Linked DNA regions of Homo sapiens: regions 2, 3, 4, 5 and 6 are each linked to region 1. The links are contacts of gene promoters, found by promoter capture Hi-C in blood cells and fetal thymus (Javierre and others, 2016). All regions are on one chromosome and are shown on one strand. The core of a region is centred on a gene start or on the middle of the fragment in contact, and the rest is flanking DNA. Distances in the headings are between cores, read along the strand shown. Region 1 holds the start of TRMT1L (tRNA methyltransferase 1L). Region 2 overlaps ODR4 (odr-4 GPCR localization factor homolog). Region 3 overlaps TPR (translocated promoter region, nuclear basket protein). Region 4 overlaps TPR (translocated promoter region, nuclear basket protein). Region 5 has its middle 5.8 kb from the start of PRG4. Region 6 overlaps TPR (translocated promoter region, nuclear basket protein).

The links. The method cuts DNA at HindIII sites, captures the fragments that hold promoters and counts their contacts. A CHiCAGO score of 5 or more calls a contact.
Region 2: a contact is called between a fragment that was not itself captured here and the fragment with the promoter of TRMT1L in region 1, in 2 of 17 cell types (activated CD4 T cells and total CD8 T cells). The highest score is 10.0, in activated CD4 T cells.
Region 3: a contact is called between a fragment that was not itself captured here and the fragment with the promoter of TRMT1L in region 1, in 4 of 17 cell types (non-activated CD4 T cells, total CD4 T cells, total B cells and 1 more). The highest score is 6.3, in non-activated CD4 T cells.
Region 4: a contact is called between a fragment that was not itself captured here and the fragment with the promoter of TRMT1L in region 1, in 2 of 17 cell types (fetal thymus and activated CD4 T cells). The highest score is 6.0, in fetal thymus.
Region 5: a fragment that was not itself captured here is called in contact with the fragment with the promoter of TRMT1L in region 1 in 1 of 17 cell types (naive CD4 T cells); the score reaches 6.5 in naive CD4 T cells.
Region 6: a fragment that was not itself captured here is called in contact with the fragment with the promoter of TRMT1L in region 1 in 2 of 17 cell types (total B cells and naive CD8 T cells); the score reaches 6.3 in total B cells.

What each region holds. Positions count from the first base shown.
Region 1 is chr1:185,155,269-185,158,377 of GRCh38, forward strand. TRMT1L (tRNA methyltransferase 1L) reads right to left here and starts at 1,685. Exons shown (of 15, transcript NM_030934.5): 1 at 1,210-1,685. The coding sequence starts at 1,444. SWT1 (SWT1 RNA endoribonuclease homolog) reads left to right here and starts at 1,899. Exons shown (of 19, transcript NM_017673.7): 1 at 1,899-2,046. RefSeq lists enhancers at 773-1,678, 1,522-1,631 and silencers at 1,182-1,431, 2,172-2,291. The HindIII fragment of the contact is 11,948 bases long and covers 1-3,109 here.
Region 2 is chr1:186,385,364-186,388,384 of GRCh38, forward strand. It overlaps ODR4 (odr-4 GPCR localization factor homolog), which reads left to right. Exons shown (of 14, transcript NM_017847.6): 4 at 625-720. Among named protein-coding and RNA genes, the nearest start is that of ODR4, 11 kb to the left of the region's middle. The HindIII fragment of the contact is 1,570 bases long and covers 855-2,424 here.
Region 3 is chr1:186,338,027-186,341,306 of GRCh38, forward strand. TPR (translocated promoter region, nuclear basket protein) reads right to left here. Exons shown (of 51, transcript NM_003292.3): 28 at 3,226-3,280; 29 at 3,002-3,133; 30 at 1,616-1,746; 31 at 7-217. Among named protein-coding and RNA genes, the nearest start is that of TPR, 36 kb to the right of the region's middle. The HindIII fragment of the contact is 786 bases long and covers 1,112-1,897 here.
Region 4 is chr1:186,314,921-186,318,162 of GRCh38, forward strand. It overlaps TPR (translocated promoter region, nuclear basket protein), which reads right to left. Exons shown (of 51, transcript NM_003292.3): 49 at 2,562-2,680. Among named protein-coding and RNA genes, the nearest start is that of PRG4, 20 kb to the left of the region's middle. The HindIII fragment of the contact is 5,178 bases long and covers 1-3,242 here.
Region 5 is chr1:186,288,839-186,292,125 of GRCh38, forward strand. No RefSeq gene overlaps it. Among named protein-coding and RNA genes, the nearest start is that of PRG4, 5.8 kb to the right of the region's middle. The HindIII fragment of the contact is 625 bases long and covers 1,133-1,757 here.
Region 6 is chr1:186,367,982-186,370,866 of GRCh38, forward strand. It overlaps TPR (translocated promoter region, nuclear basket protein), which reads right to left. Exons shown (of 51, transcript NM_003292.3): 4 at 1. Among named protein-coding and RNA genes, the nearest start is that of TPR, 5.8 kb to the right of the region's middle. The HindIII fragment of the contact is 1,085 bases long and covers 765-1,849 here.

The DNA of each region.
Region 1 (3,109 bases), core at 435-2,934:
TAAACAAATACAACTTCGAAGTGAGGTAGGAGGCTACTTAGGAGGGTGGAACCCTCTCAGCTCCCCATGCCTCCCCGATCCCTACCCACTGTAGTTGAAGAAACAACTGGCCTTATTTTGTACCTACAAGCTCTGATCTTATATAATGAGAAGGGGCTTACCTGAAGCATTCTGACTTTTGTCTTTCCTGTGATTAGCCCTACTCTGAAATCTATAACAATTTGTATGTTGTTTCAAAACTGCAAAATAATCCTATCTATAACTATCTAACCTTTTATAAATATTAAACTCAAAACTGGCCTAGAAGTAGAAAAAATAATGAATTAAAGATTATTTTAAGTTCCAATTCAGAAAGCACATAAAGGTCAACTTATGACCACAAACTAAATGTTAAAAGAACTTAAATTATGTCTTTCTTAGACCTTACATTTTAAAATGTTAGAAGATCCTTAAGAAAGTGTTACTCATCAGTCTTTTAAATTCCTATATGGTCCAATAAACCACCACTTAGAAAACATGCAGGCACATTCAGAAGCACAATAATATGGGCCATTAATTCTCAACAGTCTATTTCTGATGGAATGGAGTACAAAACTCAATTGGTATTTATGTATGGGGGAAAACATCCGTAAATTTAGTCGACTCTTTCCTAAACTACTACTCAGCCTCAAAATCTTTTCGGAGGCAAGCTGCTAGCGGGGGAAAAGAAAACTGAAATGAGAAAAACTCATCTCCTTGTGGCTGTCGAAGCAGAAAAGCTAGTTGACAGTAATGGTTTAGAAATGTTGGCAGCTAGGATCTACTACCGTAAACAGGTTGCCTCGGTTACTATGTCACATTTGAAAGAACTTAGTTAACCATGGCAGACTGGACTGCGGGAAACTACCAAATTATGTGTAACTTCCTATTTTTGTACCTTAAAAAGACTCCCTTTTAAGAAAAAGCCCTTAACCTCATTATTTCCTTCTATCTGCAGCATTCCTGCTCTCCGCATATCCCTCACCGTGACATCCTCGAGGCTTATGAAGATGCCGTCTCCCATTCTGTAACCCTGCTTTAGCCGCTACACGGGCCCCTCTTTCCTCCCCACCATTTTCCTAAACCTGCCTTGCCCCATAAAAACCATCCCGGTGAAGGGCCTCCCCTACTTCCCAGCAAGGCGCACTTTCTCTCTTCTGCAGCAGAAAGATCTGGGCCTTCTGCACTTACTGCTTTTAGCCTCCTCAGGGGCAGAGGCTAGGGACGGGGACAGGGCCGGAGCCTGGGCCAGGGCAGGGGCTGGGGCTGGAGCCGAGGCCGGAGTCGGAGCCGAGTCCAGAGCCGAATCCGGGGCCGGAGCTGGGACCCCAGCCGAGTCCCGGGCCGGGGTCGGGACCTGGACCTGGGCCACCTCCACCTCCTCCTTCTCCAGGGGCAGCAGCTCCTCCTCCGCCATATTCTCCATAGTTACCGCCTCCGTGCCAAGCCCGCCCGGGGACCCGGAGCGGGGCTCACGGCGGGGTCAGAGAACTGACGTGAATGCCCACAGGGCTGGATCCAAGGAGTGGGGAAGCAAGTGGGGAGGGCGGGATGCGTGCAACAGACAAAAGATGAAGAACCAGTGACCAAATCCTGTTAGTAGAAAACAGAAAGCCAGAGGCAGCGATTCCAGATGCCCGTCCGCTTCCCTTTCCCCGAGGCGTTACGACGCCACCACAAACTGCGCAGAAGCGTACTGGGGACGGCGTCCAATTGGGTAAGAGGGTTCGGTTTCTACGGTGCGTCTCCGGCCCACCGGCCAACCACCAAACCGAACAAAGACTACAGCACCCAGGATACACTGCGCAGTCTGGGGGCGGGGCCGGAGTTCAAGCCTCGGAGGAAGTAAATGCAAATCTAAGCGAGCGCTGTGGGGCGGTGAGTAGGTAGTGCGGATGCGGGCGCAGAACTACGTTTCCCAGCAGGCATACAGTTGGTGGGGCGGGGTGTGTGTGTGTGTTGGGAGGCGGGGGTCCCTCTCCTTTGGCTTGGGGCTCCGGAGTTGCCACTGCCGCCGGCGCTGGTAAGGTAGGAACTGCGGGGTGCGTTGACGTTTTGCTGGGCAGGTTCCCCCTCGTCCCCCGCCCCAAGTATACTGGCGGGCGGGCGGCCGGCCGGACTGGGGACTCAGGAGTCACACGGACCTGGGCGGGGCGACTCTGTGGGCGGGTCCGGGGACGAGCCAGCTCCGTGGAGGGTGTGGTTCTGGCCCGGCTTGCCTCCGGGGCTGCCCCTTGCCCGGTGTTGGGGTCTGGTCGGTTCGTGCGGAGCCCGCGGGCCCGCGGCGGTTTACTAGCAGCTGACGAGCTTGCCTGTCCATCCAGCTGACTTGGAATTAGGGTCTGTTCTTCATTTCGCACCCTCACCTACACCGTGACCCGAACACTCTTTTCCTTTGTTTTTATTTTTGCTTTAGTCTTCATGTTGCCAGTATCAGCAGTTCTGCGGTGTGGCCAGTGGATAGAAATTAGTTGTTTTGCTCTATTTTGCTTTGTTTTCAGGCTTTTAATAACCAGAGCTCTGAGTGGGTAGAGCTTCGGGGCATTTAATTTTGATGCGTTTCAGATCCCCAAAACATATGCTAGCGAGTCCCCTGTCCCCCGTACTTCTCTCCCCTTCACTCTTAGTGCCTACTTGACATTCGAGCCTTTCTTGTTTCTTTCTTCTGTCCCCCCGCGATAAATCCACTGGGACAGAAAGGAGAAAAACGTGAACTTTCTGGCTGCCCTGCTTGGGCTTGGTCCGAACCTTCTAGGCATCAGGGCAGGAGAGGGAAGCCCAATTTAGTCTCAAGAACAAGACGCGCGCTTCCAGTTAGCTTTTCTTAGTTAATTAAGTTGATAAACGCCAATCTTCTTGGTCTATTTGTTTCCTACTTGTTTCAGAACCCCGGGGAAGAGATAGCATGATTATTTGGCACTTTGAAGCACTAACTGGAAATTAACTCCTCCCCCTATAGTTAAGAAGTATATATCTGGAGGGGTGTGTGTGTGTGTTTAACCTCTCCCCAGTTTAATGGGAACAGATTATCCCTGTGGAGCTTCTGTGAGTTATAGTCCTAAATCCCTTTTACTGATCGTCCCGTACAGCT
Region 2 (3,021 bases), core at 390-2,889, 1.2 Mb after region 1:
CTGACCAACTAGTAGGGTTCACAGATAACTATGATATAAGACTATGTGATAAAATCCATGGGAAAACTACACCAAAGCCCTGTCGGAGTTCAGAGATGAAAAGATCAGAGAAGGCAGCTTCCTCAAGCTGCCTTTGAAGTATCCAGTAGGGTTGAGACATGCAGAAGTATAAGAAAAAGTCAGTTTCGGCCTAGGGAACACCCTGAGTAAAGACACATAGTTAGAAAGCCTAGGATGTGTATGGAAAACAGTTTATAGCCTCATTTGACACTACTTTTCAAGTAGTTTTTGACAAATATTTGAATTACTTGAGGAAAAGTAGTGTCAAATGAGGGTATAAACATCATTGACCAGATCCTAGAAAGTCTGAAATATCAATCTAAAATAAAACTTCATTTTATTTAGCTGATGGTGGGACGCCATTGAAAAAATATTTCAGTCTTTGATCTCCTGAGAAAAGGATTTATTTATTGATGTAGCTAAAGGATGTTGTTATCAGATAGTTTTATTTATAAAGTAGTTTTAAGGTGAAAAGCTAAGGACATGCTAAGCAGACAGTTTCTCAAACAGAAAGGATTGCATATAATGCCAATTTGTTAGCTAATAATATATTTCTATTTTTAGGTATCCAGAATGCTACCAGGGGGACTTTTAGTTCTTGGAGTATTTATTATTACTACTTTAGAACTGGCAAATGATTTTCAAAATGCCCTGCGTAGAGTAAGTTTGATATATCGAAAATTCTTAATGAAATCAGTTATATGTTATTTTTACTGATTATGAGTATGTGTAATGATTCTAGGCATATTTACATTTGTTTTCCATAATTCTTTTTGTTGGGGTTACATTGAAAAAGCTTTTGTCACTCAATTGCTTGGATATCTTGAGTGTAAAAAATGTTTATATTTTTAAAAACTACACATTTTATTTATTATTTTTTCCATGGGTAATTTTATTCTTTATTTAGTACACTACCCAAAACAGGGCTATCATCAGCCCATATGGCATTTCATACAAATTTGAAAAAGCTATTCTTTCCTCAAGTTAAAAAGTTAAATTATTTACTTCTCAATAATAACCATGACTAATGACAGTAATTCCATGTAAATTATGCAAACAAATAATTCATTGTAAAATATTGAAAAATTCAAATGATTAATTATAATATTAAGAACTCAAAGTCACTTGGATCTAATAATTTGTTGTAAAAAAGGCATCTTTGTGGAAGTAATTCTTTTTGACAGAAAAACTACATATTTTAAAATAATCTTTATTTTAGAGGTAATTTCTGACTATTAGGAAACAAATTATAATGCTTTAAACAGTTTTTCTTATGCAATAGCAGTATTCTGTCACACCTTCCATTTAGTACCTAGTGATTACTGTAACATGAAATTAATAGGTGCTGAAATTCTTTACCTTCTTCTCAATTCTCCGGAGATCCTGAGAGTAAAACATAAACAATCAGATTATTCCTGGACACAGTATCTATCAGAAATCTCCTGTGTTTTTTGCTTAATTGCTGCACCAGAGAATTGGGTAACATAGTGTAAAAGTAAATATGAAGGTCCACATGCTGTTTTCCCTTAAACCCAAACCTAAGGTAGATTCTGTGTAGCCAGCTCTTTTAGCATTCAGGATCCACATGAACTTTTTGAAGGGTATTTCATACCCCAAAAGAGGGGGAACCTTAAAATCTTGAGACATATAAAACCCAACCCCAACAGTATCCCAGAAAAACATTTTTTAGGTAAAAAATATACAGCTGAGAACTTCAGATGTTACAGATTTTTTCAGTCTTGTAACCTGTCCTGTCAGATGTCCCAGCCTCAAGCCTTTGATATTTGCACCTAAGGGAGTAAGGGAAGAAAATGGAGATATTCTCCTCCCTGCTAAATTGTTTAACCCTCTGCCAACTTTTCCATCTTAAATAAATTTACCTTGTTTACAATTGTTCATTCTCTTTGGCATTTTGAAATTTAACCGAAATCTATGCGTATTTAATATTAATAGCATTCATTGTGCAACCTTTTTTGGCTGGTGCTGAATTGAGGGGGTTGAATGTGGGCCCAGTGCTAGAGAGATACAGCCAGGCCCACTTTCCTTGCTTTTGTATCTTTTGTTCCTAAAAAGTATATAAAACTTTAGAAATGCTTTATCTCTGACATTACTGAGTTTCAATTATCTAATTGTTTCCACTGGCTACACTGACAAACACTACAAGAAACAGCCTTATAAAACTTGTCAGTGTCACCCATTATTGTTAAGGACTTTATTCATCATATTACATTAATATTGTGTTTCCGGAAGAATTTCTTTTTATATTATGAAGAAGGTTGTGCCTCCTCTGATGATTGTTTTTAGCTTACAGACCATGTGAATTAGGTTACAGATTAGATTTCTCTCTGCACATTATTGTTAGAAAGCTTAGACCGAAATGTATTACCACCCCTTACATCAAGTATGCATTTTTATAATTCTTATTTCTGACACAAATTTATCTCACTATTCTACTTTAACTTTCAATTTGTTATTACTATATTTTATATGTTGTTATATATTGCCTTAAGTCTTGTGTGACGTTTAAATAAGAAATGCTAAATGGGTGACATGCTTGATTTCTTTAGTTAAAATCACTTATCATTTCTCATTCTAATTAAAGTCTCTGTTCTATAGTTTATATAAATTCTAGTTGCCCCAAATTAATTTTTTGTGTCCAGTTAATCTCTAATGATAGTGAATTAAATTTTTTTATTTAAACCCAATTTTTCTGTAATTTCCTAAAAGGAATTCAAAAATGTTAGTAATTAGCTCCAGTCTTTAATTTGAAGAAAAGAAAAATTAATGGTGGCACACACCTGTAGTCCCAGTTACTTGGGAAGCTGAGGTGAGAGAATCACTTGAGCCCAGGTGTTCAAGGCCAGCTTGAGCAACATAGTGAGACCCCTTCTCCAATAAATAAAGAATCATGGAATTTTAAAGCTAAATGAGAGTTGGGGACATTATAATTGCCTATTTCAA
Region 3 (3,280 bases), core at 255-2,754, 1.2 Mb after region 1:
AAATACCTTATCCTGTTGTGCTTTAAGTTCTTCATATTGAGTCTTGTACCTACGTCCAATTTTCTTAACTTGAGTAATAGTTTTGACTTTTTCTTGGATATCAATTATTTTGGCATCTAAGTCCTTCTGGATGGTTTCCTTTTCAGTTCTTACTTTATTTAGATCTTCCTTCAGACTCTGAATTAAGTTCTGGTTGTTAGTCAAAGATGCATTTGATCTTTAAAAAATGGAGGAAAGAAGAAAGATTAAATATATGAGACATTTTTCAAAGTTTGAAGTCCAATGTAACTTTATGTTATACTGCTTTAATAACTTTTTTTTTTGAAAATCCTAAAAAATACCCATATACTTCAAAGGTAAGACCTTACGAATTTACAGCCCTTCGGCAAGATCTTATTACATAGGTTTACATGCACATTTTAGAGATGAGAAAAACAGAGCTACCAATGGTCAAGTAACATGCGCAATTTTACAAACTAAAATCAAGTGATGGTACCCAGATTTTAATTCAGACTTGCTTTAAGAGCAAAACCTACCCTCTTCCTACTGCACTGAGTATTGTCAAATTTTTTCTGTAAAAGGGCCGGATAGAATGTTATGCTTTGCAAGCCACAAAGTCTTTGCTGTATTTTTCTTAAACAATGCTTTAAAAATATAAAAATCATTCTTAGCTTATAGGCTGTACAAAACCAAATCATGGGCCACATTTGGTCTATGGGCTACAGTTTGCCAACCCCTGTCCTATATCCTGAACTGAACTTGAAATCAGATGGCCTGAATTAAGAGTATGGGTTAATTCTGAACTGAACTTGAAATCAGATGGCCTGAATTAGGTAGTCAATCTTTTTGAATCTTAGGCTCCTCATTTTTAAGATTAAAATATAACTCTCCTACTTAACATGCTAGATGATTGCTATAAAGAGAATGTACGTATATATATCACAAAAATTTGTAAGTTGTAAAGCAATATATAAATGGGACCATGATATGGACAAATTACACTAAAGCTTACAAAAGGTAAACCAGAAACATTAATTTTAATGTTTAATTTCTTAATTTTAAAGGGGCAATACTTTGCTATTAGTTCATGTGAGAAAAAATTAGACTTACAAGCTTCCCTTGGCCAGGCATGATGGCTCATGCCTGTAATCCCAGCACTTAGGGAGGCAGAAGTGGGAGGACAGCTTGAGCCCAGGAGTTTGAGACCAGCCTGGGCAACAGAGGGAAACACTGTTCTCCACAAAAAGGAACACAAAAGCCAAAGTAATAAAACCCACTTCCCTTATAGAGTCACAAATATAAGCTAACCAAAAGAAAAAAAAAACCTCCTTGTAAGTTTTTGATAGCTGTAAATTTAGCTTTAGACTTCTGAGTAGCTCTTTAAAAAATAAAATATAGAGAAATAATTATGAGGATAGTCTCATATATATTTTATATACAAAGGCATAATATTAAATCACTGCTTGACTCTACAAAGTAGATGGAAGTCAGATATAGGTGCTCTAGCACTTTCCATTCTTTCTAAAACCAGGAGGCAGGCACTTGGGGAGTCATGTAAATAAGTAAAATAAACTTCTTTTATATTATATATGATTTAAGGCTTCTTTCCATATACCTTGCAATTTCAGCTTTAAGTCTACCAATTTCTTCTGTCAATTGTTGAATACGCTTAGTATGAACTTCCTTTTCAGAAAGGAGCTTCCGATATTCTTCTGTATCTGGATCTTTCTGTTGACTTACTAGATGCTAGAATAACAAAAATGCATACTTGATTTTTTTAGGTTTTATGAAACAAATGTGCTATAATAAAATGGCAGAATATCTGATTATGTTTATATTAGGTGTCCTGCATGTAAAGTAATCAAGCATGGAACTACAAGATACTAAGATCAAACTAAGCTTTGGCTTGTTTGGCTAAGAAGTCTACCCACAATACAAGAGGAAAAAAAAATAAAATGTCATTAAATGTTCATTATTTTTTCATATTTGTGAATAAACATTTCATATTAGTTACAATGAAGCCAAATAAAGGGATCTGAAGAATCAAAACTTTCAATATTAAGTACCTAATTTCATTGAAGTGACATTTACAAGAAAAAAAATATAGACAATGCATTACAAGTTAAACACACAAACCTTCTGTAGATGCCAGGTAATGTGCTTCACATTTGTTAAATTTTTATCACACGAAAGGTGATAAGGGAAAACTAAAGCTCCAAGAGGTTAAGAAACTCTCCCAAGTCATATAAATAATACATGCAAGGCAGATTTCTAACCTTTTGTTTGAATAAAGGGCTGGAGTTTCGAACCACAGTATGTTACATGGTTTCATCTCCCTAAAAACGTTCCAGTGAACAAGTCTTTTTAAAGTGCTTTAATAAATTCAATAAATTATACAGATTCCTATTTTGCTTTTTTTTTTTGAGACAGGGTCTCCCTCTCTCACCCAGGCTAGCATGCAGTGGCATGATCACAACTCACTGCAGCTTCGACCTCCTGGGCTCAAGTAATCCTCTGACCTCAGCCTCCCAAGTAGATGGGACTACAGGCATGTACCACCACGCCCAGCTAATTTTTAATTTTTTGTAGAGTTGGAGTCTCACTACATTGCCCAGGCTGGTCTCAAACTTCTGGGCTCAAGCAATCCTCCCATCTTGGCTTCCGAAAGTGCTGGGATTACAGGCATGAGCCACCGTGTCTGGCCTCAGATTTCTATTTTCATGTATAAAAATATTTTAGAGATAAAATGAAAGGCTAAAACTTTAAAATTATGGAAAATAACTGCTTTTTAGAAATATATATAATATAACCAAAATTTTTTATAAATTGGGTTATAAGTTTAACATCTGTCACGTATTTACATGTATTAATAACATAATAGACTTTCACTAATAAACACAGTAATTTTCACTAGTTCCTCAAATATTTTTATTCCCCTAAGTTTCCCCTATTATTAAAAACACGTGTTTCCATGTTTTGGAAGAGTTTTAACTGCATTTACCTGGTTACGTGCTTTCCAACGTTTGACATCCTCTTCTAAGAGCTTCTTCTCTGCCTGCAACATACCGCTTTTCTCACTCAGCTCAGCATTTGCTTCTTGTAAGGGTAAAATATCTAACTCCAGTTTCCTCACCTGAAAATCATGCCAATATTTAACAACAAATGTAAAAATTCATTTATTATTAAAAACAACATGCTTCCACTCTTGATAACTAAGCAACAAACCTTTGCTTGCATTTGCTGTAGATCCTGTTCTAGTCTCTCCTTCTCTTCTCTTAGC
Region 4 (3,242 bases), core at 701-3,200, 1.2 Mb after region 1:
CTTTGGGAGGCTAAGGTGGGAGGATCACTTGAGCTCAGGAGTTCGAGACCAGCCTGGGCAACACAGCGAGACCCTGTTTCTACAAAATTATAAAACAATTAGCTGGGCATGGTGGAACATGCCTACAGTCCCAGTTACTCAGGAGGCTGAGGCTAGAGGATCACTTGAGCCCGGGTGAGGTTGAGGCTGCAGTGAGCCATGATCAAGCTAACAGTACTCCAGGGAGACCGGTGAGATCCTGCCTTAAAAAACACCCAAAAAACCAGGCAGACCAAGGCCCTGTCTCAAAAAAAAAACAAACAAACAAACAAAAAAAAAACACCAAAAAAAAACCAGAAGTGCTTGACTTTTTTTCATTCATTCACTTATATTAATAAATATTTACTTGTTGACTACCCATGTATCAAACATACTGCCAGGTGCTGAGAAATACAACAGAAAACAAAATATCAAGTCCCTCAGCAAACAGCCTACAACAGAACACAAATTATATCTGATTCTTTTTCAGACACCCCAAATGCAATCATTAGCAAATCATGAATGCTCAAATTTAAATATATATCCCAAATCTGACAACTTCTCACAATCCTAACTCTACCATCTCACCTAAGCCATTACTATCTTTTCCTGACTTACTGCAGTAGCCTCCAAAGTTTCTCGTTTCTGTCCATTATTCATTTTTAATCTCTTCTGTATGCAGCAGCCAAACTGATCAGATCATGTCATGTCATTATTCTGTGTGAAGCCCTCCAATAGCTTCTGGTATCCATGACAGCCAAGGCAATTACAATGATCTACTCGATCTATCCTCTCCCGCCTCTTAACATATCTCCTGCTACTCTCTGTTCTCACTCACTGTGCTCCAGCCACAGTGGCCTCCTTGTTGACCCTGAACACAAGCAGACACACTGCTGCCTTATGGACTTGGCATCTATTAATATTCTCTTTGATCTAGTATGCTCTTCATTAAGTAACTGCACAGCTTTGATCCCTTTCTTCTTTCAGCTCTTAAATGTCACCTTCTCTTAGTGATGCTTCCTATGAAACTGCCTGCTACACTGTCAAATATTTGTTGACCAAATGAATACTCAGATGGGGGAAGTACAGTTTTACATTATCAAATAAATTTAAAGACATCGTAATTTCATATTATACTTTAAAGGAAACAACCATATTTTCTCATACAAGCTCTGATAAGATATAACAAGTGCTAATTCTATTGAGGAAAGCCAATTTTTATGGGACGTCAAAATATAACTGGGGGCACAAAACTTCAGTAATCATTAATATGATTGTTATACATTTTTTAAGCCTTACTGCGTATGAAATGGTTCTGTAATTTACATACATTATTTTAAATCCTGATTGCAAGATTAGTTATGAGTATCCATATTACATAATGTATAGAAATTTAAAGTTACCAGATATGAAACGGTAGATATTAGGGATATTAACCAATAGGCTGATGTGTCACATCAAAGCAGCTGAGAATCAGGGGAAGAGATTTTGGGATAGCAAAGTTCTGTGATTTAAAAAAGTAATAAATAACTGAGCAGGTCTGCCATAAAATCTGAAGGTTCCATGGCAGAGTTTGAGAATTACCACTGTAAACAATTAAAAATTAAAATAATCAGACTGAATGACCAAGTACTGTATATCCTTAATAGTAAAGGTAATTCTCTGTCTAAAAATTTGAGATAGATGAGCTAGTATAGTGTATTGTTCAAGAGTGGGGTCTCTGGAGCCAGACTTCTTCAGTGTAATCGTTGCTTGTCCGTTACTTATTAGCTATTTGACTTTGAAGAGGTTATTCACCCTTTCTGTGCCTCAGCTTCCATATCTATAAAATGTGGATGAATATCTACCGCACTGAGTTGCGAGAATCAAATAAGGAAATATAAGTAAAGGGCTCAGAATACTACATGATACACAGTTAAGTGTTCAGTAAATGCTAACTGTTATTCTAAAAAATAACTTCTATTACAGGAATAATACATATCTTTTTTTCAAAATAACTTCAAAAATTTGAAAAGCCAAACTCTGAAACTGTTTACATCAGTAAATTTCAAACAATTTTTTTAAGCAACTGAGCTCTTACCCCTTAACTCTCCACATCAAATCTCATGTAGAACCCCAATATGTAGAACACATAAAAATGGAGCTGCTGTGGTTCAAACAGAGGCAAGAGGCCTGGAGTGCCCTAGCACTCCTTAGCCTCCCTCCCAGTATACCCACCCACTACAACCCCTGTAGCACCTCTAAAAGACCCAAGAGCTCTACAAAACATATGTTGACAACCAATAGTCTAGATGAAACATGAGTGAGCTATTCTTTTGGGATGGATCCACCATGTCCATATTTCTTATTATTGATGCCAGAATATTCTTAGAATAATTATTTCAATATAAACCAAGTTCCTTTTAATAATAAAATTTCTCTTTTAAATAAAGCATTTTAAAATACAGGAAAAAAGGATTATTAATTTGTTACTAATAAAGCAGTGTTTTCACAAACAAGTTTGATGTATAAAAACTGTATTGCAGTCAAGGGCAGGGACTCACCTACAGATGAGCTAGAAGGAGGATCCTGGCTGGTGGAGGGGAGATCTGACTCATCAGATGCTTGAACCGGCTCTTCTTCCTGCTGGCTATCAATTTCTAGGCCTGCTTCTGAACTAATACTAAGGAAAAGAAAAATGAGAAAATACAAAACTGATCCTACAGTCAATCATAAATTATATCCACTCTTTTAAATCTATTTTATCACTTAAGTAATCCAGAGCTCCCTTAAACAAAAAATTATAGACTGATTTGGTTACCATATATATTTTTCAAAGGAGCAGGGGGGAAAAGAGCTCAAATTGTTTTTTCCTCATTCCTTTTCTCACTATGACATGTTCCAATTTTAGTTTATGATTTTCCTCTTCTTATGTTTCCTTTTGACAAGGATGTTCACATTCTTGACACTCATAAGAAATATATGGTCCAGATTTTGATAAATCTCAAAACAACATTTTAGGAAAGCACAGTACTATAAAAAGTTCACAACAGTCACACTACTAAATAGTATACCAGTAACCAAACCACGGGCTCTAGCCCAGATGAGATAGGCTATGGGTATGTAAAATTCCTGGCTCAGTGGCTACATCCATCTTTCTCTCTTCCATTCAAGACACAAATGAGGGAGACAGTACAAGAATAACATGAATCTGCTCCAGTTTAAGTCATGTGAAAATTTCAGTA
Region 5 (3,287 bases), core at 195-2,694, 1.1 Mb after region 1:
GAGCCGAGATGGCGCCACTGCTCTCCAGCCTGGGAGACAGAGCGAGACTCTGTCTCGAAAAAAAAAAAAAAAAACAGAAAAAACGATCAAAGTAAAGAGCAGTTCCTGTTTTCAGTGCTTTGGCGGGCTGATCATAACTTTTCTCAGTTCTGAGAAGTCATTTGTTTCCCAGCACTGTTTCTTACCTTGCTGGGTTTTTCAGCCTACACAGGCCACATCCATCAGTTCAGTCTCGTGCCTATTAATGCATGCTGTCCCAAAGAAGAAGCAGTATGTGTCTCTAAGCACCAAATTCATTTTTAGGAGAAAAAGAATTTTTAATGGCAATCCTACAGTTTCATTAAATTCAATCTGATATATTATCAAACACTTATGTGCCAAGTCCTCTACTAAGTGCTGGGGATACAACATATCCTTGCCTTTGATGAATTTACAATCTAAACTGCAAGATAATTTGTTGATATTTATCAAGAATTATGAAGATGTTCCCACTCCTAAGAATTTATTTTAAAGGTAAAATACAATACAAGCTGCATGAAAAAAAGGAATTTATCCTTATTTTTATTTTGTTTATGTTTGTTTTGCTTTAATCAGAATAAATGTCTGGCACCTAGCTGATACTTAATAAATGTTGATGGTTTGTGGAGGTGTTGTCCAAAGCCTGGTATAGGACTCCTCAAGGCATAGCTGTGACTCTGAGTTTGCCTCTGTAAAGAACAAAGCTTTCTACTATATTACTCTGAGGAGGACTTGGAGGAACAAAGGGTCTGGTCTCTATCAGTGCCCCTCCCATAAATATTTTCTTTGCACAAACAGCAGAATACAAATAAAAGGATAAATAGGTAGCCGTTTATGCTGTGTCTGCTCTCCATCCCCTCAAGAATCTTGAGGTCTAAGTTACACATACAATGAACCCAAGTGCTTGTCAATACCAAAGCCCTTTTCCCCAGTCCAAGGGACAGGCAGAGCAAGTGCTAATATTAGCAGTGACATTTATTCGTTAATTCATTCAAGAACATTTATTGAGCTACCAGAGATATAGAGATACTCTGGAGTCTTGTTTCATAAGCAATCAACCAAAAGAAAGGAGGAAATGTTGAATTTTAATCTTCTGATTGAGTTTTCTGTATCAAGCTTAACATAAGCTCCATGGAGACAATTGTTGCAAATGTCCTGCTTCTTAATCCTTTTGATAGAAATTAGCTGCCATCACGGGGAAAGGGATTTTAAATGGATTATTATGCAATACTATGCAATCAGCCAATACTGCATTATACTCAATATCTTTAAAGAGCCTGGTGTTCCTGCTTTGGAATGACTCAATGAAATGTCTTCTACAATGTCTCTTGGGATACTTCCCTCTTATCCCACCTATCTATGGGTCCTTCAACCACACCCAGGCTTTGCTCCCACTCTCTGAATTTCCCAATTATGAAGTATTTGTCATACTGAGTTATAGCACCCCAATTCACTTTCACTCACTCATGTTGGAAATTACTCATGTTGTTGGCTACTGGAAAATAAGTCAGTAATGTTCCTGTCTGAGCTGTCACATAGTATGCTTCCTTGACATCTGGAACCCAAGTGATGCGGACTTGAATGATCACAATACTGCAGCAATTTGGATTAGAAATCAGACATATGATGGCAAAGTGGCCGTTAGAAGAAAGACAGTAAACCTAAGTTTATCACGTATGAGAAGAAGCCATGCTAGCTGTGAAAAAGCTACAAAATGTAATCATTCTGAAATCTTAAGAAGCTTACAGCATAGTGAGAAAGATGGATATTGATAAGAGTGAGATGCCGTTTTAGAGATGCAAATAGTTACATAGGAGCACAAAGAAGGAAATTACTAACCGTGGATATTATAGCACGTGGGTCATTGAGTTGGTTAAAATCATGGGCTTTGGAGTCAGACAAGGGTTGGGTTAAGATACTAAATTTATCATTTATTGGCTTTTTAGCTTTTTAATCTTGAACATATTATTTATCTTTTCTATGCCTCAGATAATCTCAAATGTCAAATGGGATGAATAATAATAACTATTATGTCATAAGATTACTGTGAGGCTCAGCCGGGCACGGTGGCTCACGCCTGTAATCTCAGCACTTTGGGAGGCCAAGGAAGGTGGATTACAAGGTCAACATAGTGAAACCCCATCTCTACTAAAAATACAAAAATTAGCTGGGCGTGGTGGCGGGCGGCTGTAGTCCCAGCTGCTCCGGAGGCTGAGGCAGGACAATTGCTTGAACCCGGGAGGCAGAGGTCGCAGTGAGCCAAGATCACGCCACTGCACTCCACCCTGGTGACAGAGTGAGACTCCGTCTCAACAACAACAAAAAAAAAATTACTGTGAGGCCCAATAAAGTCATACATTTATGCCATGTAACAAAATAAACACTCAACACATGTTTTCTATTATTATTAGGTTACTAAAATGGCCCATTAGTAAAAGGCTATACTAGAATGATTTTAAGGTTACTTTTTATCTCACAAAGCCCTGTTTTGGAGGAAGAAAAAGCCACGTTATCAGGAACTAAAGAACAAGTAGGTAAGAAGAATGAAAAAGTGGAGCTATATTATTTTTTCTCTTATTGTCACCTTTGGCTACTGTCCCAGTTTTTAGCCGTAGGAGCCTTTAGATTCCAGATTATATGTCATTCATCTGCAAAGAATTCCTTGGGTAGAGTTGGCAGTTCCTCATCTATGTTTCCATAACAGTTTGTGTGCAGCTTTAGAATCATAATCAACCATAACAATAACACCTGTAATTTATTCTGTATATGTCACTAATGTTCAATATAATTCTCTGATTTTTTATGCATCTCTACAATGCCAAATAATTGGAATTATTGCTCCCACTTTCCAGATAAGGAGACTGAGGCCTAGATAATTCAAGAGAATTGTATTAAGCCATCAGGTAGACAACTTTGTAGCGGAGATTTGAACAATGTTCTGACCCACTCCAAAGCCCAGCTCTAGCTGCTCACCACACTGCCTACTCCTTGCACATGACATTTGAACTATTTGTTTCTGGCTACCTGAATGGTCCAAGAAATGCTAGGGACCAGAGATTCTTTCTTGCACATATATGTATCACTAGAAATTGATACTAGGTTTGGTGTGTAGTGACCACTATTTGATAATTTCACCTCAATAGAATGAATGAACAAATTGGATGAACTTTTATTCTTAGAAAATTCAGTAGAGAAAATTCTTTATTCATGCACATCCGGGTTTATGCATTAAAATGGCCTTAGTATGAATCTGGATATAAGATTATTGA
Region 6 (2,885 bases), core at 57-2,556, 1.2 Mb after region 1:
TCTGTCATATAAAGAAGTAATAAGTAAGAAAATCAAGTAGAGCAATACAGGAAAGCGAACATAGAATTGTCACTTTAGTTAACATCAGCTGTAGTGTAAATGACTGGCTTTCTCTTATAACTTACACATCAAAGTTAAAAAATACCCGTAATTCCAATGTTTCTATTTAAATTTTGGATTTTTAAAACATTTTTACTAGGCTTATGAAAATTTTTCTCATATCTCTTTTAATCACATGGAAATGTCCTAATAACTTAGAATATCACTGTATTTACACCTTAGTTCAAATTATTTTTCAAGAAAGATTCCTAAAAATTGAATTACTTAAAACTTTTAATATATTTTGTCAGCCAGGTGCAGTGGCTCATGCCTGTAATCACAGCACTTTGGGAAATCAAGCTGGGCCGATCATTTGAGTCTAGGAGTTCAAGACCAGCTTGGGCAACACAGCGAAACCCAGTCTCTACAAGTAGAAAAAAACAGCCAGACATGGTGGCACATGCCTGCGGTCCCACCTACTCAGGAAGCTGAGGTGGGATGATCATTTGAGCCCGGGAGGCAGAGGTTGCAGTGAGCCAAGACTGCATCACTGCACTCTAGCCTGAGTGACAGAGTGAGACCCTGTCTCAAAAACAAAAAACTTGTCAAACTGCTTCCCAGCAAAACAATGGCAATCTACATGTTTTTGAGTTAGAAATATCTATCTCAAGCTACCTATGTCAGAACTGTAGGTTGCCTTTTAATATTCTTGTTTCCTGTGTAGAAGCTTTTTAGTTTGATGTAGTTCCGTTTATTTCTTTTTGCAGCTTGAACTACTGATGTGATCCAAACAATCATTACCAAGGCCAATGTCAAGAACCTTTCCCCTATGTTCACTTCTCTGAGTTTTATGGCTTCAGGTCTTACATTTAGATCTTTCATCCATCTTGGCTTGATTTCGGTATATGATGTAAGCAACACAAACATCCAACATTCATTTCTTCAAATGTGGAAATCCAGTCTTCTCAACACCATTAATGAGGAGACGATCACAACTCCATTGGGTCTTCTTGGCACCCTTGTTGAAATTAGTTGACCATATGTTTGGATTTATTTCTAGGCTCTCTATTCTATTCCATTGGTCACTTTTCTGTTTTTATGTCAGTACTGTACTATTTGGATTACTATAGTTTTATAACAGTTTTCTAAATCATGAAGTATGATGCCTCCAACTTTGTTTTTCTTGCTCAGTACTGCTTTGGTTATTATTCAGGATTTTTAAAACTGATTCCATCAGAATTTCAGAATTTTTTTTTTCTATTTCTGCGAAGAATGCCTTTGGAATTCTGACAGGATTGGCCTGAATCTTTTTACCACTTTATAGTGTGGACATTTTAGCAATATAATTCTTCTTATCTATGAGTATGGTATATCTTTCCCATTATTTGCATCTTCAATTTCTTTCGTCAATGTTATATTATTTTCAGTATATGAATCTTTCACCTCCCAGGTTAAATTTATTCCTAAGTTGTTTTTTGATGGTACTCTAATGAAATCTTTTCTTAATTTCTTTTTCAGCTAGGTCATTGTTTGTGTATAGAAATGCTACTAGATTTTTTAATATTGATTTTGTATCCTTCAATTGTATAAATTCACTTATTAGCTCTGACAGGTTTTTGTGGAATCTTTCAGGTTTTCTACATATAGGATCATATAATCTATAAGTAAAGATAATTTTATTTCTTCCTTTCCAATTTGGGTGCATTTTATTTCCTTTTCTTGTCTGATTGCTCTTGCTGGTACGTCCAGTACTATACTGAATACAAGTGGTGAGTGGGCATCCCAGCCTTGCATTGGATCTTAGTGAAAAAGCTTTCAGTTTCTTTCTTTCAGCCACCAAGCAGTTAAATAAATTCTATTACTTTTTAAGTCACTTCATAGTTTTTTTTTTCTGAAAAATTTTATGTGACTGTGTGCACACTATTTTCCTCGGTTACAGATCCATAGTTTTTACAAGATTTATAAAGATTTTGTGACAGCTCTGCTTCTTTCCAAAAGATTAAGAACCTCCGTATTGGGTTTTATTTCTGGACTGCCTTTTATTCTCTGTACTGATTTTTATATCAGCATTGTAATATTTTAATAACCATAGCTTTATAAAACTTGAATATGTGGCTATGCAAGTACTTAATTTAAATTGATACTTCCTTTTTTTAGAAGCATCCTAGCTATTACTATGTTTTTTTCCCCAATCATCTTTAGAACTACATTAACAAGTTTCTGGCTATCTGACTTGGACTTAAGAGTCAAAATGTATTACCAACACATTAATTTGGAAAACATTTCCATCCAGAAATTTGCAATATCTTCATTTATAAAGGTATATTCTCACAGTTTTCAGAGAAGTATTTGAGTTTTCTTGGGTATTGAGTCATTCTTCATATAAATACATTTCTTACAAAGCCTTTCTAGGTATACTACGAGGCTTTTTTGCGCCTATTCAGATTCTGGAAGTAAATTTTTTTTTCCCTTCAGAAATGTGAAGAAATTATCTTTTAACACCAAATAAAATGCAAATTTTAAAAAAGCAATGGCAAAAGTATAAAGTTGTATCTGGTTAAAAAATAATTGCATGCAACCACTTTAATTAACAAATTTGTCAGCAATCCCTGTGATCATATTCAAACTGTCATTCTTATAAAACTACCCTAAGGAAATGACTACCAATGTGGATTCACCCAAATTCCCAACTGTATCACATTTGATATAATACCTGGACTACAGTCAGCATTCAATAGATAATTTCTGTTGAATAAAAGAGATGTCCAATCTATCAATAAAACATAGATCCAATTAAGGAATTTATATTTACATATTTTTGTTGGTAGCTTCCCCTAATAGGACAT